2 separate regions of the Homo sapiens genome follow, and region 2 is linked to region 1. The links are contacts of gene promoters, found by promoter capture Hi-C in human tissues and cell types (Jung and others, 2019). All regions are on one chromosome and are shown on one strand. Each heading gives the region's core, a stretch centred on a gene start or on the middle of the fragment in contact. The rest is flanking DNA. Distances are from core to core; before and after follow the strand shown.

Region 1 (2,700 bases), core at 104-2,603:
CCCAGCAGGAGTGTCCCCGGTGCACGTGGTCGGGGGCGGAGCCCGTCCACGTCACCACCCGGTGTAACCAACGGGCTCGGAACGCAGGCACACGCAACATTCCAGGCGAGAGCGGGTTTGGAACGCGCAGACACGCCACATTCCACACTGGCTAAAGCGGGGCGCAGCGAGGGGGGCCCGGGGGCTGACCCCCAGCGACCCGCGGGCCATTTCGCAAACGCCCAATTAGCCCGGCTTTCACCCAAACCCCGGACGCGCAGCCCAGCCCAGCTCTGGGAGGCGGGGTCAGGCGGGGCTGGCCAGGATCATAAGACACGCGATGTCATTTCATTCTGCAAAGGCCGCCTCCGCCCCAAGCGGCGCGTAGATCTGCCGGGAGCGCCCCCCGCACCCTCCCCACGGGGCCAGGGAAGCCGAAGAGCTGCTCCGCGTAGAGTAGTCCCCACCCCCACTCCGTTACACACACGCCCACTCGTGTGCTATACACACGCCCGTGTACACGTCCGTTCATCTGCTCTTCCCGAGGCTCACATCACACATCCCCCGTGCACACACGCACGCACACGCGAGCCTGCCACCCCCACGCAACACCATTCCTCACCCCACCCCCCGGCTCACACATCCTCAGTGCCACCGAGGGCTCCGCTGGCCCACGCAAAAGCAGCCCACCACAGAAGGGGCACAGGGGTGCCACGCAGCCGGGGTGGCGCCCGCAGGAGCCAGGTCCCTCGCAGCATGTTAATGAATTCATTAATTAATTTCACTGCCCACATCACCCCTCCCCAGGCGGCGGCTCTCGCGGGGAGCCGTGCGCTGCCAGGCTCCGCAGGCCGCCCGGGAGGGGGCCCTGTCCGCGGTTTCGCGTGGGTTCGGGGACCGGGGTCACTCGCTTCCCCTTCCCCAGTGCCCCAGGGGCCCAGCCCGGCCGCTCACCACGTGCTCTCTGTTGTTGCTGCGCTTGCCATTCCAGGAAGCGGGCCGCCTCCAGTAGCGTCTCTATGCTCATCGCGCCGAGAGCTGCCGGGGGCGCGCCGGGGCCGAGGCTGCGGCCCGCGAGCCGGGCACAGGTCAGGCTGGCGGGCAGGCAGGAGGGAGGGATCACCTCCGGGGGGCGACAGGGCTGGGCGGCGCAGCGCACTCCGCAGGGAAGAACGGGGGAGCACGGGGAGAAAAATCAATGTCTCTCAAAATATTTGCAAAATATAAAATTGCAAATTTAAAAAAATGGGATGCAAAAAAAAAAAAAAGGCGGCACTGCCTCCCTTCTTCCCCTCCCTCTCTACCTCCCTTCCGATGCCTCCCGCCCCGCGGCCCCCGGGAGTCCCGCCGACAAGAAAGGGCTTTGCAACAAGATGGCGAGGAGGCACCGACACACACAACAAGGGAAGGAGCCGCGCTGCCCCCGGCCGCCGCCCCCGCTACTACACCGGGGCCACAGCCAAAGCCCGGACCGGAGCCCCCGCCCGCAGGGCCGCGGCGTCTCGCGAAGGGAGGGGCGGGTCCTGCGCTGCTGGCCCCGCCCCCCGGATCCGGCGCGCGCACACGTGGCCCGGGCAGGGAGGGAGAGGTCCGAGCGGGGTGTGCGCGCCGCGGTTCCGCTTTCCTGCTGGCCCCGCCCCGGCTGCAAGCCACAAGTTGGGCCGGGGCGGTGCGTTTGGGTCGTTCACGACGAAATCTGTCCTGCTGGAGGGAGGGTAGGGTGAACAATTCAAGATTTAACAGAGTTCCAACCAGGATATTCCGGGTCAGGGAAACCTTGGGAATGGCAGAGACTGGCCTGACCCTGGGTCTCCACGCTCCACCCACTCGCGACCTAAATCCCGCAATCGCCGGGCTGTCGCAATTCCCCCGGGATCCGCCCCTGGGCGGAGCTGCCGGCGACTGGAGACTGTCAAGAGAACCAGCGGAGGGAGCGGAGCGGCAGTCCGGCTCCGCGTTTTGTCTCCGTTCCTCCCCCCGCAGTGCGTTCGCATCCTATTAGGGGACGTCACCGGGCCGCGAGCCAATGGGCGGGCAGGACAACACGGCATGGAGCAGCTCCACATGGACACCCCGCGCCGCCAGCCTTCGGTTTAAAGGGCCAGTGTCTGCAGGTCACATTCGCGGGTGCGGATGGGGCCACTGGGCGAACCCAGGGTGGGATGCCGTAAGGGGAATCCCGCAGTCGTGCCCTGGCCTCTCCATTCCTTTTCACCACCTTCCATTTAAAACCAGGCCTTTATCTTTCCTTCCCCTGAACTCCAGTCTTTGTCCACGCGTATTCGATGTGGGTGGAGATACGGACTGTGCCACCCCATGGGCCACCCTTTCCTCTGGGGCCGGGGCCAGGGCGGGGAACACGAAGCGCCCGCAGCCCAGACCGGGGGGCGTGGCCCAAATCGGGAACAACAACGTGGAGGGCGGAAGCCCGGCCCTCCCCGCGCCTGGCGACCGGCGGTGGGCGGGGCGCGGGGGCGGGGTCCGCTGCGGCCGGCTGGAACCGCGCTCCCCAGAGGGAGGGACCCCCCGTCGCCCGCCCGCCCGCCCGCGTCTTCCGGGCTCGAGTGTTTAGGGGAGCTCGGGTGCAATCGGAGAGTTAGCTCTTTGAGGCCGGCTGCCCTTAAATCCTCTCACTTCACACATAAGGAAACTGAGGCCGTGACGGCCAAGGACTCGCCTAAGGTCGTTCCGTATTCCACCTGCTCCTCTCTCCCGAAGCGG
Region 2 (2,700 bases), core at 199-2,698, 520 kb before region 1:
TTACCTACGGTTCAGTTTGATTTCACGGGGATTGATGACCTCGAGAACAAGTCGAAAGACTCACTTGTAGGTAAGCTCGTGTATGAGAAGGAAGAGCAGGGATGACTAGCTTTCTTTGCAGTGTACGGGGTGGTGTCAGGCTTCAGTGCTTGCCGTTCATCATTTGCTGGCGTCGGAATGGGAGTCTTGACCACCTCCTGCTAACACGTGCATGTGTTTTAGACATCATCGGGATCTGCAAGAGCTATGAAGACGCCACTAAAATCACAGTGAGGTCTAACAACAGAGAAGTTGCCAAGAGGAATATCTACTTGATGGACACATCCGGGAAGGTGGTGACTGCTACACTGTGGGGGGAAGATGTAAGTGCTGGGATGGGGTCTTCAACACGCACAGGACCTCCTGGGGTTGGGGCGTGGTCTTGTCCTATAGGATGGGGCCTTCAGCACACACAGGAGGAGCTCCTGGAGTTGGGGGAGGGAGTGGTCTTATCCTATAGGATGGGGCCTTCAGCACACACAGGAGGAGCTCCAGGAGTTGGCGGAGGGGGCATCTTGTCCTATAGGATGGGGCCTTCAGCACACACAGGAGGAGCTCCTGGAGTTGAGGGAGGGAGGGGTCTTGTCCTATAGGATGGGGCCTTCAGCACACACAGGAGGAGCTCCTGGAGCTGGCGGAGGGGGCGTCTGTTCCTATAGGATGGGGCCTTCAGCACACACAGGAGGAGCTCCTGGGGTTGGGGGAGGGAGGGGTCTTGTCCTATAGGATGGGGCCTTCAGCACACACAGGAGGAGCTCCTGGGGTTGGCGGAGGGGGCGTCTTGTCCTATAGGATGGGGCTGTTAGCACACACAGGAGGAGCTCCTCGTGGGGGCGGTTTTGTCCTATGAGTTGGGGGCTTTCACCATGTAGATGGGAAGGATTGTGCTGTCTGGTAAGTATTTAAAATCCTTTATCTTACTTCTGTGAGATTTGCTGTGATTCAAGCTTTACGCGGGGAAATGCTCTTTCCCCTAACTCTAGGAAAGCAGTGATAGTTTTGATGTGTCTCTGAGTAGATTCTCATGTGTGAGGTCTGTCTTGTATGGATTCCATGTACGCTGATTACATTCACTCTACTATTGAATGTTTGCCTTGTTTTCTATAAAAATCTTCTGTGTTCTTCCTGCTAGTGACACTTGTATATGTCTGGTGTTTCTTTTACAGGCTGATAAATTTGATGGTTCTAGACAGCCCGTGTTGGCTATCAAAGGAGCCCGAGTCTCTGATTTCGGTGGACGGAGCCTCTCCGTGCTGTCTTCAAGCACTATCATTGCGAATCCTGACATCCCAGAGGCCTATAAGCTTCGTGGATGGTAGGTTTTGTGGGGCTAAACAAAGGGTTACTTGAGGCTGGGCTTTGAGAAAAGCTGGTTACAATCAGCATGGGAGCTTTCTGCCAAGCAGAAGCCTTCGTCCCTGAGTGGTGCAGCTTCCGTGTTTCTTGAAGGCATTATGCCTTCTGTGAGGAGGGCTTTAAAGCCCTTAAACGGACAAACCTGTAATCCCAGGACAAACCTAGAGAGTCGGAGGAGGCAATTAGCATGTAAGTGCTGCCTGCTGACCTCGATCCTGCCAAAGGAGGGGACGGCCAGGCTTCAGCAGCGGTGTGCTGAAGGCGCCTTTCTTTCCAGGGTTTAGGCTCTGGGCCTCTGTGGCGTGGGGGAACACATGCTTTCTTTCTCTGTCAAGTCTTTGGTGCCGATCACATCTTCTAGTGTGTATTCACTAGACTCTGATCAAGTGTGGTGAGAACAATGGGCTTTTTGTTAGGATTAGATTGTTATTCCCAAAGCACTCAAGGGATGAGGAGAGCCTGTTAAAATCTCCTCACTGTATCTAGCTTTTTAGGACATTCAAACTCTGTCTTAAAAGAGTACTTCAAACTGAGACACAGGATGCAAGAATTGATGTGGTCAGGGAAAACACTTTCACCCAAGCTTCAATAATTCCCATAGCTGTAGTCTATGGGGGGGAAGTGTGTCAGTTTCCAGCTGTGTCTTAGGATTTAAGCAGCTAAAGAATGAGCTCATTTTACATACTCCTCCTTTGTTTTGAGTCATTTAAACCAATGGCACTGGTGTTTGACCAGTTTCATGAAGCATCTTCTGGAATGTTCATGTCACTGAGCCATCCTCATGAGTAGTACGGTCCACACGTATCTGCCGAACTGCAGGGCCCGTTCATAGTCTGACCAGAACTAGCCACAGATTTGCTTTTTTCTTATTGCTTGATTTTCTTTTAGGCTCTGGAGTTCGACTCCAGGTTAATTGCATTCCCACATTAAAATCGCATTCCCACATTAAAATTGCATTCCCACATTAATGTCTTCATCTTTTACTTGTCAATAATCATGATCCCAGTCAACATAAAAAGCACGGCTGTCCCCAGAATAAAATAACTTGGCATTGATCAAAGACAAGCTCAGTGCATACATGATACCTGGACAAGGATTAGAGATGTTTAGATCTTGGCTATAACAATGCAGAGTTTTTATTGTAAGAAGGGCCGCCTTGACTCCTGACGAGTGATCTTTGGTGGCAAATGTCTCCTTGGAGCTTTTGAAACCGTGAACTTGTGTAGCTAGTAGTGGTGAAACAGATGGATGGGCCTTGCTGTGCCCCTGTGAGGGATTTAGCCGCTTACCTGACAGGAGAAGGCA

Evidence for each region. The method cuts DNA at HindIII sites, captures the fragments that hold promoters and counts their contacts. A contact is called where the count stands out against the background at its distance.
Region 2: a fragment that was not itself captured here is called in contact with the fragment with the promoter of MNT in region 1 in 1 of the 25 tissues and cell types used here (adrenal gland).

What each region holds. Positions count from the first base shown.
Region 1 is chr17:2,399,707-2,402,406 of GRCh38, forward strand. MNT (MAX network transcriptional repressor) reads right to left here and starts at 1,354. Exons shown (of 6, transcript NM_020310.3): 1 at 934-1,354. The coding sequence starts at 1,006. RefSeq lists enhancers at 1-38, 39-609, 1,900-1,949, 2,321-2,700 and silencers at 1-319, 840-899, 1,050-1,129, 1,320-1,629, 2,280-2,599. The HindIII fragment of the contact is 14,706 bases long and covers 1-2,700 here.
Region 2 is chr17:1,879,338-1,882,037 of GRCh38, forward strand. It overlaps RPA1 (replication protein A1), which reads left to right. Exons shown (of 17, transcript NM_002945.5): 10 at 1-70; 11 at 223-362; 12 at 1,206-1,354. Among named protein-coding and RNA genes, the nearest start is that of RPA1, 51 kb to the left of the region's middle. The HindIII fragment of the contact is 3,965 bases long and covers 1-2,700 here.